Regions from separate parts of the Homo sapiens genome. Here all the other regions are linked to region 1. The links are contacts of gene promoters, found by promoter capture Hi-C in blood cells and fetal thymus (Javierre and others, 2016). All regions are on one chromosome and are shown on one strand. Each heading gives the region's core, a stretch centred on a gene start or on the middle of the fragment in contact. The rest is flanking DNA. Distances are from core to core; before and after follow the strand shown.

What was found. The method cuts DNA at HindIII sites, captures the fragments that hold promoters and counts their contacts. A CHiCAGO score of 5 or more calls a contact.
Region 2: a fragment that was not itself captured here is called in contact with the fragment with the promoter of AVPR1A in region 1 in 2 of 17 cell types (M1 macrophages and M0 macrophages); the score reaches 5.7 in M1 macrophages.
Region 3: a contact is called between a fragment that was not itself captured here and the fragment with the promoter of AVPR1A in region 1, in 1 of 17 cell types (M2 macrophages). The highest score is 6.9, in M2 macrophages.

The regions. Positions count from the first base shown.
Region 1 is chr12:63,149,321-63,152,962 of GRCh38, reverse strand. It overlaps AVPR1A (arginine vasopressin receptor 1A), which reads left to right and starts at 1,762. Exons shown (of 2, transcript NM_000706.5): 1 at 1,762-3,096. The coding sequence starts at 2,127. The HindIII fragment of the contact is 3,248 bases long and covers 1,555-3,642 here.
Region 2 is chr12:64,297,469-64,301,110 of GRCh38, reverse strand. All of the region lies in intron 6 of C12orf56 (chromosome 12 open reading frame 56), which reads left to right. Among named protein-coding and RNA genes, the nearest start is that of KICS2, 77 kb to the right of the region's middle. The HindIII fragment of the contact is 156 bases long and covers 1,461-1,616 here.
Region 3 is chr12:64,267,213-64,270,854 of GRCh38, reverse strand. C12orf56 (chromosome 12 open reading frame 56) reads left to right here. Exons shown (of 13, transcript NM_001170633.2): 12 at 141-319; 13 at 3,567-3,642. Among named protein-coding and RNA genes, the nearest start is that of KICS2, 47 kb to the right of the region's middle. The HindIII fragment of the contact is 5,943 bases long and covers 1-3,642 here.

The sequences.
Region 1 (3,642 bases), core at 513-3,012:
CAAGAGCCACAAAATTACTAGGCTGTGGCCAACAAACCACTTTTGCAATACCCAGACACTAGGTTCAGTCAACATTCTTTCTCATCAGGAGCACTAATAGTGTAATTTGTGACTTAAAAGAAAGTGAATTCTCTGAGTCAGTGACTATTACCTAATTGCTTGAAGGATTTTTTCCAGACAGGTGGTCTGGAAACCTTTTACCTATTACCTTCCATCCCTGAACCATTTCAATCTTCTGCCTCCTGGATATCTTGGAGAAAATGAACCAACACAACACAGCTTTCAGTTTTTAGAGCATTTCCCCCATACAGAACATTGTCTTACTTGATCTTCCCGATGACCTCAACAACAGGAAAGGCAGGTCCTTTCATTTCCATTTATAAGACGCACAGACCCAGGATTATCTAGCCACAGGAAGCAGGACTCCAGATTTCAAGTCCAGCATCTCAACGTGACAACCTTGGTAACTCTGCATGAACGGACTGGATAGTAAAGTGGAATTATTACTGAGAACTGCAATGAATAAAATCTTTTGCATTTTTTGCCTACGTTTCACAGAGGGTGATATTTTTCTGAGGCAATTAAATTTATACCACGGCCACAATACTGAAACGTTCTGACCAACAAAGTCATGCTCCTGCATCTACACAGCAGATAACTGCAGAAACGGCTTCCTTTCTTCCTTGTAAAATTGCCTGAAAACAGCTCCCCCTTGCTGTCCGTCGAGGCATATCTTCACCAACGTTAAAACAGAGCTGAGGGAGATCGCATTTCTGCCTCCCTCCCGCCCTGCAGAGGGGCTCCAGCTGTTCAGAGTAACGGATTACTAGGTAGGTGGTTGTTTCCCCTCCTTCCCAGGGCCTCTTTCCTCTCTTTGAGATTGCCTCTTTCTTACTCCTGAGCACAGGAGCCGGGCGGGTTTTCTGTCCCTTGCCCTGGACAGCACTGCCTGGATGGCCGCTGTCCGGCAGCTGCTCTTTGTCCACCCAAAAAGATGTCCCCACGACTCAGTAGTAACCAGACGGTCCCCACGGACCACTGCGGCCAAATTTCCGCCATCCCCGCTGTGGGAATCAGGCTTTTCCCGCAGAAAACCCCAGGAATCTAGAGAAAACTCCTTAAGTCCCTAGTCTCCATAGAGAAAACCAGGAGACACTCCCCCCAAACCCCGCTGTGAATACAGGCACAGCAGCCACTGGGGCTGCAAAGTGATGAGTGCGTTCTTCCCGTCGCAAACATAGGGTAATAAATAGCATGCATCAAAGACGTTACTAGGAAGAGATAGCTCTTTAAGTCACGAGCGGGGAGAAATGTTTGCCCCGGGAAAATTTGCCTGGGGAATAAAATTTGCCAGACTGCTGCACGGGTGAGCTCGGTGAGAAGGAAGAAACCCGGACTGGAGGAGGTGAGGTCGAGAGCCAGGTTCAGGTGCAGGAGCTAGATGCGTGGACGCCGGTGCGTGGACTGGAGGTTTCCAGGTACCGCGCTTAGCGTGCCTGTTGAAGTCAAATGCATGGTTAAGGAGGCTAGCGAGGAAGGCTAGTGAGGGAAGCTTGTGGAAACGGCTACGAGCCCAGAAAAGGCATGACTCGTCCAGTTGTCCAAGTTTTTGGAAGGGAAAAGCGGGAAAGCGCCACGATCCCACCTACTGTGAGGAGGAATCTGCGAGTCTCCCAGCTCCACCCCCTCCACAGTGATGCAGAGGACAAACACCGACGTAGGGAGAGGAAAAAATAAAACTCCAGGGAGCGGGGAGTAGGCAACCAGCAGTCTTCCGGCAATAGGGCGGGAGGGAGCGCGTCCCAAGGAAACAAGCACCGCATAAATACTTGAGTTGGGAACCCAGTGCTTCCGGAAGCTCGGAGCTCACCTTCCCGACCTCGCCGAAGTTGAAAAAAGGCAGAGCAGGGAGAGGGGCCAGCTCACCCTGCTGAGAGCTGCTCAGTGGGCAGGCGGGACGCTGCTCCGGGAGACGCCCACTGGAGGGATCGCAGAGCCCGGCAAGCTGCGAGCGCGCCAAAGACCCTGCGCTTCGGACGAGGAGCCCAAGTCCTCCGAGACGGGGAGGGAGCGGCCCGCGAGGGCTGGAGCTCCGAAGAGGGCCGAGTAGGAGCTGCATGGACAGCATGCGTCTCTCCGCCGGTCCCGACGCGGGGCCCTCGGGCAACTCCAGCCCATGGTGGCCTCTGGCCACCGGCGCTGGCAACACAAGCCGGGAGGCCGAAGCCCTCGGGGAGGGCAACGGCCCACCGAGGGACGTGCGCAACGAGGAGCTGGCCAAACTGGAGATCGCCGTGCTGGCGGTGACTTTCGCGGTGGCCGTGCTGGGCAACAGCAGCGTACTGCTGGCTCTGCACCGGACGCCGCGCAAGACGTCCCGCATGCACCTCTTCATCCGACACCTCAGCCTGGCCGACCTGGCCGTGGCATTCTTCCAGGTGCTGCCGCAAATGTGCTGGGACATCACCTACCGCTTCCGCGGCCCCGACTGGCTGTGCCGCGTGGTGAAGCACCTGCAGGTGTTCGGCATGTTTGCGTCGGCCTACATGCTGGTAGTCATGACAGCCGACCGCTACATCGCGGTGTGCCACCCGCTCAAGACTCTGCAACAGCCCGCGCGCCGCTCGCGCCTCATGATCGCGGCCGCCTGGGTGCTGAGCTTCGTGCTGAGCACGCCGCAGTACTTCGTCTTCTCCATGATCGAGGTGAACAATGTCACCAAGGCCCGCGACTGCTGGGCCACCTTCATCCAGCCCTGGGGTTCTCGTGCCTACGTGACCTGGATGACGGGCGGCATCTTTGTGGCGCCCGTGGTCATCTTGGGTACCTGCTACGGCTTCATCTGCTACAACATCTGGTGCAACGTCCGCGGGAAGACGGCGTCGCGCCAGAGCAAGGGTGCAGAGCAAGCGGGTGTGGCCTTCCAAAAGGGGTTCCTGCTCGCACCCTGTGTCAGCAGCGTGAAGTCCATTTCCCGGGCCAAGATCCGCACGGTGAAGATGACTTTTGTGATCGTGACGGCTTACATCGTCTGCTGGGCGCCTTTCTTCATCATCCAGATGTGGTCTGTCTGGGATCCCATGTCCGTCTGGACCGGTACGTGCCGGGAAAATAGAGGAAAGTGCAGGGATAGGAGTGTGTGTGTGTGTGTGTGTGTGTGTGTGAGAGAGAGAGAGAGAGAGAGAGAGAGAAAAAAATGAGAATCTAGCAATTTTCTTCATAGTATCTTCTAGGGCAGTAGTTTTTAAACTTCTATGTGTACATAAGAGTCGCACCTTGGAGGAACACTGTTTAAAAAAAAAAAAAGCATATTCCTGGATTCCCCATGCAGACATTCTAATTAAGAATGTCTGGAATGGGGCTCAGGACTCTGCATTTGTAGTGTGCAATGATCCTAAGACCACAATTCCAGAAACTGTGTCCTAGAGTCAGCCAAGCAACTACAAAGCCGAAGAATGACTTTTGCTAAATCACTAGCTACTGTATTAACACCATTTCAGGTCTATTGGATTCAGGGAAATATTTTTACTGTCACAACTGCTTTTTGTTGGATTGTGAAAAGTATTACAATTAATTTTAAAAATGTGTAGAAATGCCTCAGGGGCAAGGATAGAAACAGATATATATTTCTAAAGAAAGCTG
Region 2 (3,642 bases), core at 289-2,788, 1.1 Mb before region 1:
GGAGGCCTCAGGAAACTTACAATCATGACAGAAGGCGAAGGGGAAGCAAGGCATGTCTTACATGGCAACAGGAGAGAGAGAGAGAATGTGCAGGGGAAACTGCCACTTTTAAACCATCAGATCTCATGAGGACTCCCTCACCATCGTGAAAACAGCATGCATGATCCAATCACCTCCCACCAGGACCCTCCCTCGACAGTGGGGATTACAATTCAAGATGAGATTTGGGTGGGAACACAGAACCAGAACATATCAGGCTACCATCTGGATAAGGTGGGCACTGGGAAAATGAATCCAGATGTAGATGCTCATGGAAAAGGCACAGTGCCCAAAGGTGAGAGTGATCTCTACATAAGAGTGAGCAAAATGAAATATCAGGATATTTTAGCATGTGGGTGAATTACAACTGGATGTCTGCACAAACATTTGGCACCAGGAAGATCTGCTTGTTTAGGGTGTGGGAACAGGGTTTTATGGAATGTGAGGACATAAAGATTGTCAAGAGTAAAGCCAGCAGTTAGGAGAGGACTGGGAAAGGACTTAGGACAGTGCTCAAAGGGGAAGTCCACCCAGATACACTGGACACAATCAGGGACTGGATTTAAAGTGCATGTCTAGGTAGGAGAACTGAAGTACCACTTAAGGGTTAGATTAAGAAGGATGTTGATGTGTATTCCTAATGGGATCAGCACCAGTGTTAGTCTGGAGGTCATTTAAGCATCTTCAGTTTAAAAACAGGCCTGATACCTGTGGCCTAGGCTGTGGAACAAAAAAAGAATGGAGAGAAAGAGAGTAAGGTTAGGATTCACAGACCTGACCCGCCACTTCATCTTCTCTCTCACCTCTGTCCTCTACAAGATCGAGCCATGTAGGATAACTTGGATACTTGTTCTCCTTAGCTCTCCTTTCTCCCTGCTGCTTGCTTTCTCTAGAATACTCTTCTTCTAATTTCTCTTGTTAAAAATCATACCCATTCATCAAGGCTCAGCTCAAATGCCATTTTCTGCCTTTCCTGTCATGCCTAATGGGGAACTTTAGTACCTTCCTCCTTTTGATCTTCTCTGTCAATTCCATGCCATAGAACTTTCTTTGAAGTTTTATAATCTGCATTGTTCAATACAGCAGACACTAGCCACATGTGGCTATTAAGCACTTGAATGTGACTAGTGACTAAAAAAGTAAAACGTTAATTTTATTAAATTTACATTAATTTAAATAGACACTTGTGGGCAGTAGCTACCGAGTTGAACAATGTAGTTCTATGACATCTTTCATAGCACTTCCTCTTTAACAATTAACAGACAGTTTTCATGCCTAATCTGTGTGAGGCTTGGTGATAGGTATTAGAAATATAGCATGATTATGATACAGTTTCTACCATCGAGAATTAGCACAGATATCCTCCCTTTTACTATAGTGATTGGCACATTTTTCTTATTTATCTTAATATGCTAAAAGCTTCTTTAGGACAAGTATATGTCTTACTTATCTTTGTATTCTCCCTCAGGCCAAAACACAATGCATGCATATTCCAGGTGCTGTAAGTTATTCATACTGAATTGCAAATCTGTTCTCTTGTGAAATATTAACCTAATCCAATGTCTAAAAATGAAGCTTTCATGATCTGTTTTATACTTGAAAACACTGCAGCCATTATTTAATATAATATTCTTACCTGGGCTAAAACAAATCTTCTAATTCAGTTATCAAAAATGAAAGGCCAAAGTGAATGGAGAAGGAAATAATTCAGATAGGAAAAGGGGAAGTCAAATTGTCTCTGTTCACAGATGACATGATTGTATATTTAGAAAACCTCACCGTCTCAGCCCAAATCTCCTTAAGCTTATCAAAGCAACTTCAGCAAAGTCTCAGGATACGAAATCAATGCACAAAAATCACAAGCATTCCTATACACCAATAACAGACAAACAGAGAGCCAAATCATGAGTGAACTCCCATTCACAATTGCTACTAAGAGAATAAAATACCTAGGAATACAACTTACAAGGAATGTGAAGGACCTCTTCAAGGAGAACTACAAACCACTGCTCAAGGAAATAAGGGAGGACACAAACAAATGGAAAAACATTTCATGCTCATGGATAGGAAGAATCAATATCGTGAAAATGGCCATAACTGCCCAAAGTAATTTATAGATTCAATGCTATCCCCATCAAGCTACCTATTGACTTTCTCCACAGAATTGGAAAGAACTGCTTTAAAGTTCATATGGAACCAAAAAAGAGCCCGCATAGCCAAGACAATCCTAAGCATAAAGAACAAAGCTGGAGGCATCACACTACCTGACTTCAAACTATACTACAAGGCTACAGTAACCAAAAGAGCATGGTACTGGTACCAAAACAGACATATAGACCAATGGAACAGAACAGAGCCCTCAGAAATAACACCACACATCTACAACCATCTGATCTTTGACAAACCTGACACAAACAAGCAATGGGGAAAGGATTCCCTATTTAATAAATGGTGCTGGGAAAACTGGCTAGCCATATGCAGAAAACTGAAACTGGACCCCTTCCTTACACCTTATACAAAAATTAACTCAAGGTGGATTAAAGACTTAAACATAAGACCTAAAACCATAAAAGTCCTAGAAGAAAACCTAGGCAATACCATTCAGGACACAGGCATGGGCAAAGACTTCATATCTAAAACATCAAAAGCAATGGCAACAAAAGCCAAAATTGACAAATGGGATCTAATTAAACTAAAGAGCTTCTGCACAGCAAAAGAAACTATCATCAGAGTGAACAGACAACCTACAGAACGAGAGAAAATTTTTGCAATCTATCCATCTGACAAAGGGCTAATATCCAGAATCTACAAAGGACGTAAACAAATTTACAAGCAAAAAACAACCCCATCAAAAAGTGGGCAAAGGATATGAACAGACACTTCTCAAAAGAAGACATTTATGCAGCCAACAAACATGAAAAAAAGCTCATCATCACTGGTCATTAGAGAAATGCAAATCAAAACCACAATGAGATACCATCTCATGCCAGTTAGAATGGTGATCATTAAAAAGTCAGGAAACAACAGATGCTGGAGAGGATGTGGAGAAATAGGAATGCTTTTACACTGTTGGTGGGAGTGTAAATTAGTTCAACCATTGTGGAAGGCAGTGTGGCGATTCCACAAGGACCTAGAACTAGAAATACCATTTAACTCAGCAATCCCATTAGTGGGTATATACCCAAAGGATTATAAATCACGTTGCTATAAAGACACATGCACATGTATGTTTATTGCAGCACTATTCACAATAGCAAAGACTTGGAACCAACCCAAATGTCCATCAGTGATAGACTGGATTAAGAAAATGTGGCACATATACACCATGGAATACTATGCAGCCATAAAAAGATGAGTTCATGTCCTTTGCAGGGACATGGATGAAGCTGGAAACCATCATTCTCAGCAAACTAACACAAGAACAGAAAACCAAACATGTTCTGCATGTTCTCATTCATAAGTGGGAGTTGAACAATGAGAACACATGGACACAGGGAGGGGAACATCACACATTGGGGCCTGTCGGCGGACGGGGGAATAGGGGAGGGATAGCATTAAAAGAAATACCTAATGTGGCTGACGGGTTGATGGGTGCAGCAAACC
Region 3 (3,642 bases), core at 620-3,119, 1.1 Mb before region 1:
CCATTTCAATAAGGAACATTGCAACAGTGGTGTTAGGGTAGTGAGGGCCTCAGTCTAGATTTGTAGTTGAAGCTCCAGCTGAAATAGTTGCTTTTGTGGGTGGCACACAGCCTACATGTAACTGTATTTTCCTTGTCTAGATTACTTTTGTGGCCAGTATTGTGAAACAAGTGGTGAGGGGTCTTTCAGCTTCATTTCAGCTGCTAAGTCCCTGCCAAGCAGTTCTGTTGTACCAGCAATTTTACATCCTCAAGAGCTGTCTGCGGCACAGCAGGACTCTAGCTGAGTATATTAGGAATAACTACAGAGAAGAATTCAGGTAAGAAAAAATGTCTGAATCTAATCTGCAGTAAGATTTCACTCATTTCTGAGTTCATGCAAACCTGCAACATGGTCCAATATTTAGAAGATTAGGTATTTATCAGGAATTCTTTTTTGTTTGTTTGTTCTTTTTGAGATGGAGTCTTGCTCTGTCACCCAGGCTGGAATACAGTGGTGCAATCTTGGCTCACTGCAACCTCTGCCTCCCAGATTTGAGCAATTCTCCTGCCTCAGCCTCCTGAGTAGTTGGGATTACAGGCGCCCGCCACCATGCCTGGCTAATTTTTTTTTTGTATTTTTAGTAGAGACAGGGTTTCACCATGTTGGTCAGGCTGATCTCGAACTCCTAACCTGATGATCCACCCACCTCAGCCTCCCAAAGTGCTGGGATTACAGGTGTGAGCCACCGCACCTGGCCTATTTTTGTTTTTAATAATATTTCACTTTGATCTGTGAAAATGGTAGGATTTTGGGGACCTCTAAGAACCATTGCCATTTGAAGTATATTCCCAGGCCAGAAAAGACTAGTGAAACATCAAACTCTCTTTGAAGAACGGTTTGTCACTCATTGTCTTTATTGTAGCTGCATCTCACGGAAGTAGTAATAATTTTAACCTGCTGTGAGTAATTAAGAGTAATAAACTTGGCTGGGCATGGTGGCTCATGCCTGTAATCCTAGCACTGTGGGAGGCTGAGCCGGGCAGATTACTTGAGGTCAGGAGTTTGAGACCAGGCTGAGCAACATGGTGAAACCCCGTCTCTACTAAAAATACAAAAATAAGCTGAGCCTGGTGGTGCACGCCTGTAATCCCAGCTATTCGGGAGGCTGAGGCAGGAGAATCACTTGAACCCAGGAGGCAGAGGTTGCAGTGAGCTGAGATCATGCTGACACACTCCAGCCTGGGCAACGGAGGGATATTCCGCCTCAAAAAAAAAAAAGTGTAAATAAACTTCACTGAAGAGGATAATAAATTATGGATTGTGACTTACAATTGAGTTATTGGACAGAAGCAATTGATAAAGGAGTAACAATTAATGAACATGGTTATCAGGGGTTTTGTTTGTTTCACTTACCCCTCTCAGTAACAGAACAGTAAGAAAGAACAGTAGCCAGCATTGGCTTCATCTGCCAGCCTGTTCTCCTGCACCTCAGGGGTTCCATTTCTATTTATAGGCTGCCAAAGCCAAGTGCACTTAGCAGTGCAGCCCTGCATAGCACCCATTAAGGAGAAAACCCAGGTTGTCTCTGACTTAAGATGAAAAGGGTACAGCGGACACAGCTTTGTCATTTGTTTGGATGAAGACGTAAAAGGATGTGGAGACATAAATTACAGCCTTAGATTGTCTTTTTTTAAAAAAAAACTACAGTCCAATTTATAGACTTTTTTTTTTTTGACACAGGGTCTCACTCTGCCACCTAGGCTGGAGTGTAGTGCTGTGATCTCGGCTTATCACAATCTCTGCCTCCTGGGCTCAAGCAATGCCCCCTTCCACTTCAGCCTCCTGAGTAGTTGGGACTACAGGCATGCACCATCACGCCTAGCTAATTTTTGTATTTTTAGTAGAGATGGAGTTTTGTCATGTTGGCCAGGCTAGTCTTGAACTCCTGGCCTCAAGTGATTCACCTGCCTCGGCCTCCTAAAGTGCTAGGATTACAGGTGTGAGCCACCACACTCAGCCATGGACTTTTTGTCTTCCATGAGGTGTTCCATTCTGACTCCCATAAAAGGGATTTGTTTGGCTCTGAGCTCGTCCAAACAACCCAATTCCCATCTCTTCCCTCTTGCACCTCCTCACTTAAAAAAATATATATATTAAGGTAAATTTCACATAGTATGAAATTTACCATTTTAAAATATACAATTCCATAGTTTTTAAATTCACCATATTTTGCAACTGTCATAACTATCTAATTGCACACCATTTTCATCACCTCAAAAGAAACTCAGTATCCATTAAGCAATCACACCACATATTCTCCTCCTCCTAACCCCTGGAAACCACTAATTTACTTTCTGTTGTGATGGATTTGCCTATTCTGGACATTCTACATAAATGGAGCGTATAATATGTGATCTTTTGTGTCTGACTTCACTGAGCTTAATGTTTTCAAGGTTCATCCACATTGTAGCATGTATCATACAACTCAATTTTTAAAACTTAGATACAAACATCTGAAAATCAGGACAACTGGCAAAGTGGTGTCACACTTGTGAGATGACAACAGTTAGGCAGAACTCCTGCAGCTACCCCCTTAGGTGCATCATGTACTGTTTAGTTTGCCACCATCTCCTCTCTCTCTTGCTTACTCTTACCCCCTAAATTACATTACTGGTAGCCATTTAGGTGTGGATTCTTGTTTTAAACTAGTGTTTTCAACTCACATTGCATTGGAATTATCTGAGCAACTACAGGTTGAGCATCCCTAAACCAAAAATCCAAAATTTGCAATGCTCCAAAATCCGAAATCATTTGAACACCAACATGATGCTCAAAGTAAATGCTCATTGTAGCATTTCAGATTTTACATGTTCATATTAGGGATGCTCAACCATTAAGTATAATGCAGATACTCCAAAATCTGAAAAAATCTGAAATCCGAAACACATCTGATTGCAATCATTTTGGATAAGAGATACTCAACCTATTAAAAAAATACTGATAACCAGGTGTCACACGTAGAAATTCTGTTTCCATTTGTCTGGCGTGGTACCAGGGCTGTGAGATTTTAAAGATAAAGCTCTCCAGGTGATTCCAATGTGCATCAGGGTTGAGAACCATTCTTTTAAGTCATCCAAGGGGATGGTTGAAGTCTTTCTCATTTTTGCCTCTTCCTCTGGCCTTTCCTAGGCTTTTACTGAGGCCGTGGGGGATGAGTTCTACTCTTCCCTCTTGACTTGGCCCTAGTAGTCACCACAGCTTGACCCTTTCATTTCAACACCTCACTGCGCATTGCCTGATAAACCAAGAAGCAGGAGCCTCTGCTCATACTGTGGTGAGGACAGTCCACATGTCAGAGATTTTCTAGGTCACAAATGGGGGAGATTGGAGGGACAGTCCACATGTCAGAGATTTTCTAGGTCACAAATGGGGGAGATTGGAGATCTGAAAATGCTGACCAAGTCTTGTAGCTTAGATTCCCACACCCAACAACCCTAGCCAGTGAGTGTGAATGTACTCAAGTGACCAATGTGAAAATTCTTGTTTTTAAAACTCTCTATTTTGTTTCTTTTTATGATTTGCAGGTACTTTATTCACATGCCAGCCTTGCAGAAAAGGCTCCCATTGTGTTACCCCATCACTCAACCTACCATTCAACTT